Regions from separate parts of the Homo sapiens genome. Here region 2 is linked to region 1. The links are contacts of gene promoters, found by promoter capture Hi-C in blood cells and fetal thymus (Javierre and others, 2016). All regions are on one chromosome and are shown on one strand. The core of a region is centred on a gene start or on the middle of the fragment in contact, and the rest is flanking DNA. Distances in the headings are between cores, read along the strand shown.

What was found. Contacts are between HindIII fragments. The CHiCAGO score rates a contact against its expected background, and 5 or more counts as called.
Region 2: a contact is called between a fragment that was not itself captured here and the fragment with the promoter of MYCBP2-AS1 in region 1, in 1 of 17 cell types (naive CD4 T cells). The highest score is 5.9, in naive CD4 T cells.

The regions. Positions count from the first base shown.
Region 1 is chr13:77,073,534-77,077,407 of GRCh38, reverse strand. MYCBP2-AS1 (MYCBP2 antisense RNA 1) reads right to left here and starts at 1,894. Exons shown (of 4, transcript NR_046716.1): 1 at 1,824-1,894; 2 at 475-592. It overlaps MYCBP2 (MYC binding protein 2), which reads left to right. Exons shown (of 83, transcript NM_015057.5): 67 at 21-260; 68 at 559-657. The HindIII fragment of the contact is 1,677 bases long and covers 1,685-3,361 here.
Region 2 is chr13:72,752,327-72,756,200 of GRCh38, reverse strand. It overlaps BORA (BORA aurora kinase A activator), which reads right to left. Exons shown (of 12, transcript NM_024808.5): 11 at 2,380-2,511; 12 at 5-1,050. The coding sequence ends at 985. It overlaps DIS3 (DIS3 exosome endoribonuclease and 3''-5'' exoribonuclease), which reads left to right. Exons shown (of 21, transcript NM_014953.5): 21 at 1-3,874. Among named protein-coding and RNA genes, the nearest start is that of BORA, 26 kb to the right of the region's middle. The HindIII fragment of the contact is 1,400 bases long and covers 959-2,358 here.

The DNA.
Region 1 (3,874 bases), core at 645-3,144:
CCTCTTTTCTACTCAACCAGGTTGATCTGGATTCCAGGCACATTGGCTGGGTAACAAGTGAACTTCCAGGAGGGGATAATCACATCATAAAAATTGAATTAAAAGGCCCAGAAAATACACTGAGAGTTCGACAAGTCAAAGTCCTGGGCTGGAAAGATGGTGAAAGCACAAAAATAGCTGGCCAGATTTCAGCCAGTGTGGCCCAGCAGAGGAACTGTGAAGCTGAGACTCTGCGAGTATTCAGACTGATTACGTCTCAAGTGAGTGTCCTTACAACATATTCTAGCACAGGATAATTGATGTAATATATTTTAAGAGTGTAACAAAATATTTTGTGAAACTTATTACAGAAATTTCTGGCTATAAATGTTGCCCATTTTTTCTTTTCATAGCCCTAAACACCTGAGTTCCATGTTGCATTTGTAATTAAGAAAAATAGTGGTGTATATTAGCAAGAGTAGCATATTATAAAACCTGCGGAATCAGCTAATGAGTCCTCTGGCCAATATAGTGTTAATGCCTGTCATTAATTCCTTCTCACATGCATATCTTCATCAGGTATTTGGAAAGCTCATCTCTGGAGATGCTGAACCTACACCAGAACAAGAGGAAAAAGCACTATTGTCATCACCTGAAGGAGAAGAAAAAGTATACAATGTATTTATTTGTATTCTAAAGATATTTATTTCCCTTTTTTATTCTTTTTTTCAGTGAAATAATTCATTTATTGCTGTATATTTTGATGGATATGTAATAACAGTTTTATGCAGTTCATATTTGTTCTTAGAAAGATGAAGGAACTATCTAAAAGAAATTCATTATTCATGTATAATCTAGCTAGTATTTTAAGTAACAGCAAATTTGCTCTATACCTTGGGTTTTTGCATTCATTTGTAATCATTTCTGTGCTATACCCCATCAGTTATCTTCTCCCTCCTCCATTGTCCCTGTCCTTCACAGTTCAGCTCAAAAGTACTGTCTTCTTCATGAAACTTTTTTACGATTTATCCTCTTCATGAAATTTGTTTATGATTTCCCCAAACAAAAGCAGTTTTCTCTCTGCTGGAGTTCATAATAATCTGTATGTGTCTCTTCTTCATTTTTCTCTTATGTTTATCTACATGGATGTTTTCTCTCTTCTACTGAACCATAGCTTCTTAAAGACCAAGTCCATGTCTAATTTGTCTTTGTATCCATCATGGTAGCATCACACACATGTTTAGTAAATTTTTATTAGAATAACTACTCTTTGTTACTGTTCTTGAAATTTCTTGCAAAAATACAGTTGCTTTACTTTTTCGGTCCTGACTAAAACACTATACCTAAAACTTTTGTACTTCATCCATTTGCAAAAAGAGAAGTCAACTCTGACTAGTCTCAATATTCTAGTGTCTTTAAATGCTACAAATAATCACCTTGGCAGCCCTTTGAAAGATAAATTTCAAGGATTTCCCTTGTCTCACCCTGTGTTTCTTAATACAGTAGTATCTAATCATTGTCCTGTTTTTGTTTGAGGTCTGAAAAAAATAAGATTTCTTAAATGCTGGTAACTTCTTTCAACATCTTTTGGAGATTTCATTTGAATGACTACAAGACTGTGTAACTACCTGTTAAGTCAATTGAATTTTAGCAGATGTCAACTCTGTACTAAACAATTGTGAGAATGGCAAGCCCTCAAAAAGCTTGCATTCTGTTCTTGGTTATGAACCCTCTGCATTCCCCTCACCCCCCCCAAAAAGAAATCAACAAAGATACTATATAGTATAAAAGCAAGTTATTAAATGTGTGAAAAAAATTGCAGATGACATTGGCTTTCAGAGTACCTTGAGATCATTGTGCCCTGGAGTGGTCAGAGAAGGCTTCTTAGGGGATATTGGACTGGAGTTAGATCTGAAAGAGAATGAAGGGATTCAAATGAGATTAGTAGAGAGAATGGGAGCAAGGACTGATCAGAGAGACTGGCCTAAGGGTGGGAGAGTGTATGCTGAGGAGTTAAGGTTGAGTAGGAAAGGTTATACTGTCATGTGTGTGCCCATGAAATAACATGATTTTTAAGAGAATCTTTTTTTAAGTTAGATTATTGAAGCACAATTTACATACAGAAATTCCTCATTTTAAACTGTATCATTCAATGAATTTTTACTTGTGTACACTAGTGAAATCATTATCACAATCAAGTTTGTTTTGTTTTGTTTTGCTTGAGACCGGGTCTCTCTCTGTCATCCAGGATAGAGTGCAGTGGTATGATCACGGCTCACTGCAACCTCAACCTCCCGGGCTCAATGGATCCTCCTGTCTCAGCCTCCCAAGTAGCTGGAACTACAGGTGCACGTCACCGTGCCCAGCTGATTTTAATATATCTGCAGAGATGTGGTTTTGCCATGTTGCCCAGGCTGGTCTCAGACTCCTGGGCTCAAGCAGTCTGCCAGCATTGGCCTCCCAAAGTGCTGAGATTACAGATATGAGCCACCATGCCCAGCCCACAACCAAGTTTTAAAACACATCACTCCCCAAATTTCTCTCATGTTCCTTTGCAGGCAATCCCCCAACCTCACACTTAGAGCCTAGCAACTACTGAACTATATTCTGCCAGTGTTGTGTTGCCTTTTCCTGGATGTCATATAAATGGAACCACTCAGAATGTAGCCTTTTTGTCTTGTTTCTTTCACTTTAGTGTAATGCTTTTGAGATTTATCCATGTTGTAGCATGTAGCCATGGTTCATTCTTTTGGTTGCTGAGAAGTGTTCCATTATATGGATTTACCGTAATTTGTTTATCCTTTCATTTTTTGATGGATATTTGGGTTGTTTCTGCTGTTTGGCTACTATTAGTAAAGCTGCTGTGAACACTCACATACAGATCTTTGCAGGTCTTTTACCAATTATGTGTTTTCAAATATTTTCTCCTAGTCTGTGTCTTATCTTTCAGAGAACAGAAGTTTTTAAGTTTGATAAAGTCCAGTTTTTTCTTGTTTTTTTGATTCATGATTTTTATGTATGGTCTAGAACCCAAGGTCACACAGATATTCTCTTCTTTTCCTTTAGAAATGTTATAGTTTTAGTTCTTTTCTTTAGAACTGTATACATTTTAATTTTTATGTGCAGTGTAAGAATTGAGGCTTATCTTTTGCATATAGATGTTCAATTGTTCTACTACGATTCATTGAGAAGACTATCATTTATCAATAGTCAATTTACCATAAATGGTAGGTCTGTTTCTGGACTCTATTCTGCTCCATTGATCCATCAAAGTGTCTTACTTACTGTAGCTTTATAAAAAGTCTTGATATCAGGTTCTAACTTTGTTCTTTATCTAAGTTATTTTGGCTATTCTAGATCTCTTGCATTTCCATATAAAGCTTAGAATCAGCTTGACCGTTTCTTTAAAAAAAAAAGGGGGGGGGGCGGTGGGGATGGAATTTTGACTGGAATTAACACCAAATTGATAGTTTAGGGAGAATCGCCATGTCAATAATATTGAGTCTTCGTATCTGTGAACATGATATGTATCAGGGGTTTTCTTACATCTGTTTAAAATTTCTCTCAGCAGTGTTTTGTAATTCATTGTACACATCTTGTACATATTTTATTAAATTTATTCCTAAACATTTAACATTTGTAAAGCTATTGTAAATGGTATTTTTTATTTCACTTTCCAATTGTTCATTTCTAGTGTATAAAAATAGAATTGACTTTTGTATATTAGATTTCTACCCTGTGATCTTAAATTCACTTACTAATTTCAGAAACTTTTTATAGACTCTTTGGGGTTTTCTTAGATAATCATGTAGTCTTCAATAAATTTGGGTTTTTTCCTTTCTAAACTATATGCCTTAAATTTCTTTTCTTATATTATTGTGTTATTGCATTGATT
Region 2 (3,874 bases), core at 409-2,908, 4.3 Mb after region 1:
CACATTGATAACACAGGTCTTTATTCCCTTTTGAATGAGACAGTTTTTAAAAGTTGATTTATAAATACAAAAATACATTCTCCAAAGATAGTATTTCCAAACTGTTATATACCCATCTACTCCCAACATGGATATAAGTTTTTTAAAAAAATAGTTGTATATAACATACATATCTGCCCCAGTGTTACTTCACAGGCCTATGCCCTACGGGAACTCCACTCTCCCAGCCCCACTTTTTCTCTTGGTTCTCCCACATTCTTATTCTCCCACATCCCTACCCACGTTTGAGCTGGAAAGGATGTCCCTACCCTAGGCATGAGGTATATTTTATTCTGGGCACCACACATTTGCCCCATAGATAACAATACACGTGATGATGTCACTAGTACTACCTTTCTAGTATTTACATACTTAAAAGTAGTAACTAGAACAGTTATCACTGGAACTAAGAATTTTCCCCACAGAGGTGAACAGACCAAGAACTAAAATTTCAGGAAACCTGTTTAATTTCTTTTGTATCTTTGAAAAGTTAGTTTTATATCTAAGATTTCTTCACATAGGTTATAATTCATCTGTATGTTCAAGCTTTTATGTAAAAATATATAGTGCCTTCAGTTTTAACATAGTTTCACATGTTCTCAGAACTGCTAAATTCAGTGCTACCAGTAAGGCTTAATAAGTAGTTCATTGACCCTGTAAGATAGGAGCACTCAGCTCTGTCACAATTTGTTGTTAAACACATCACTCAATGTAAGTATAAAAATATTTATTGATAAAAAATAAACTTATAATTCAGCAACTTGAAGTTCCAGGAGCATTTCTGTTGTTCCTATGTCAGTAAGCCCTTGATTTTTCACATTAAGGAGGGAAAGCTAAGCATGTTACTTGAAGTAATTTTTTCCCAGTCACCATCATGTTGATCCTGTGCACAACGATATATGCGAGGAACTCTTAAGCTTAGTCTTTGATTCTGACAGAGGCATTCTATGGACTGCTGCATTGAAAAGGGCTTGCTGTTTTCATCCAACACCTCTGTGTTGTGTGGTCTTGCTGTGAAAAAGAAGACAATACCTTGTTTTCAGTTTAAGTAGGACCACTGGAGGATGCAATTATCGGGACTGTTTTTAAAACCTAAAAGCACGTTTCTTTAGCTGAACTCTGAAGGGACAGTAAAGATACAGTATTTTATAAATCAATATTCTGCATCAAAAAGCATCCCAACACTTTGAGAGGCCAAGGTGGGAGGATCGCACGAGCCCAGGAGTTTGGGACTAGCCCTGGCAACATAGTGAGACCCTGTCTCTACCAAAAATTTTAAAAAGCTGGGTGTGGTGGCACATGCCTGTAGCCCTAGCTACTCAGGAGGCTGAGGTGGTAAGACTGCTTGAGTCTGGGAGGTGAAGGCTACAGTGAGCTGTGGTCGTGCCACTACACTCTAGCCTGGGTGACAGAATGAGACCTTGTCTCAAAAAAAATAAAATAATAAAATTTAAAAAAATCCTTCATTTATCTCTACTTATGTTTAGATAGACAACTGCATCCTGAAATAGGATGGATTTTGTTCAGGTTAATATTAGAAGAGACCTGCTCTGATACTACATACAACAGAAAGGCAGTTTGCTCCTACTACATACAACAGAAAGGAAAACTAAGGTGGCCTCCCTATTAAACATTTGTTGCACATTTGCTGATATTTATAGTATTTTATAAGAAACTGGCATATAACAGCAGGGCAAGGTGGTTCACACCTGTAGTTCTAGCTACTCAGGAGGGTGAGGCAGGAGGATTGCTTGAGCCCAGCAGTTAAAGGCTGTAGTGATCTGATTCTACGACTGCACTCCAGCCCGGGTGACAGAGTAAGACCCTGTCTCAAAAAAAAAAAAAAAGAAAAAAAAGAAACGGCATACAAGGCTGGGCATGTTGGCTCATGCCTGTAATCGCGCAGCACTTTGCGAGGCTGAGGCAGAAAGACTGCTTGACACCAGGAGTTTGAGACCAGCCTGGGCAACACAGCAGGCCCTGTCTCTACAAAAAAATAAAATGCAAAAAAAATTGGCACATAAAATTAAAGACTGTCCTGACTAGTGCCTGAAATTATGATGAGTTTCTTCAAGTATGAATATATAACCACCACCTGGAAGGTTCAGTAAATGCCCTCATCAAATACACGCTACCTTTGCACACTTTGTAGTATGTAAGATACTTGTGTATTCAGAGTAACCAAAATATTTAAAGGTTATTGGATGTTAAGAAAACAGGCTTACCTTTTAGTGTTTTAAATTTCATATAGTTTCTCAATAGTACTATTGTCTAATAATCAAAATTATTTTATATTTCTAATCTAAACAATATTAAGCTTTCACTATATTTTCTCCGTACCTTCATATTAAATGCTTGAGATTTACTCTCAACTTCACATGTTTGTGCATCACTTTCTTTGCAGTAACTTTCTGCCCCAACTGTATCCATAATATTGCTTCCACAATTCTGCGTATTATAGCCACTATCCATCTGACAGGAGAAAAAAGAAAAAAATATATTGTGAGGAACTTAAAAGTCAAATATTTAAATAAGTAAACCACTATAAACTCTCATTCACTACATCTGAATGATCCTAACATGTAATATTGATCATGTTGAACAAAATTCAAAAGTAATGCACAAATATAAAAGGTAGTCCTGCATAGTACTGATTATTGTAGTCATTTTACAATTCCTTCCAATGAAATATATCTTGTAACTTCCTTAAGAATCAGTGAACAGCCTACTGACACAATGCTTTCCTGTTATTTTGTGATCGTACCTAGTAGACAAAAATGAGTATTACAACTAACTTCACCTTCCAACGCATTTTCCAGGCTTGTCTCTAAATGGCTTGAGGCATGCTGCCTTTAAAAAAGTGGATTATATTATATTTACACCTAGTTGTTCACAATAATGCCACATATATAATGGCTCTAGATGTTAGTTCAGCTTTTCATGTTAATAAAAATTGTAGCATCCTAAGATACACTGTTTCAGTGCAAAAGAGCAAAAAAGAAAGATTCTAGCGAACTTCCAGCTTGGAAACATTTATTGAGTGTCTAAAAAGGCCAGGCACTATCTCTATATATTTAATATTTTTTTCTCCTTTCAACAACCCTAATACTTTACTAGAGAAGGAAATTAAGGCTTAAAAAGCTTAACTTTCACAATGTCATCCAGTGATGAGGTGATGAAGATGTGAGACCTAAGTCCAGGTTCTGTTCACTGCACAACGCTCCATTTACCTGTATAATGCTGAGCACCAAAGAAAGCAATCCACAAGGGAATCATTTTGCATTTAAGCCCTCCCTGCAAGTTAGGATCAGAGGGAAGGAAAAAGCTGACTGTCATTTTGTTTCCCTCACAAAGGTACAGACTAGCCTAGAAACGGCACTCTTTATCACTTAATAATCCTGAAAAAATGTTCCCAGATTTCAAGGCTGGATACATATCTGCTTACTACTAGAGGTCATGTTCCAATTAGAACAAAAGCCTTGTGATGTGTAACATTTTTGGGGAAAAGCCTTGTTCTGCTATCATTCAATAGCTACTTGATCAAAAATATAAATGTCAGATTGCTCCCAGAGATTCTGCCAATAGCTCTTCCTTCTAATATTCATCACTGCCAAATAGCTGGCTTATAATGCAATACTAATATGTAACTGGATATATATGGAGGGAAGAGTTACTCATTAGTACAGCAGGAAGTAAGGCATGCGGGGAGTTTGTCCCACACTATGGGAAGAGCAGGATTGATGAGAGCCAAGTTGAGATGGTGGCTGACTTCACTGTCTCTCATCTAGACTTCTGCTAATGTCAATGCCTAATATGTACCAACCAGGCAACAGAT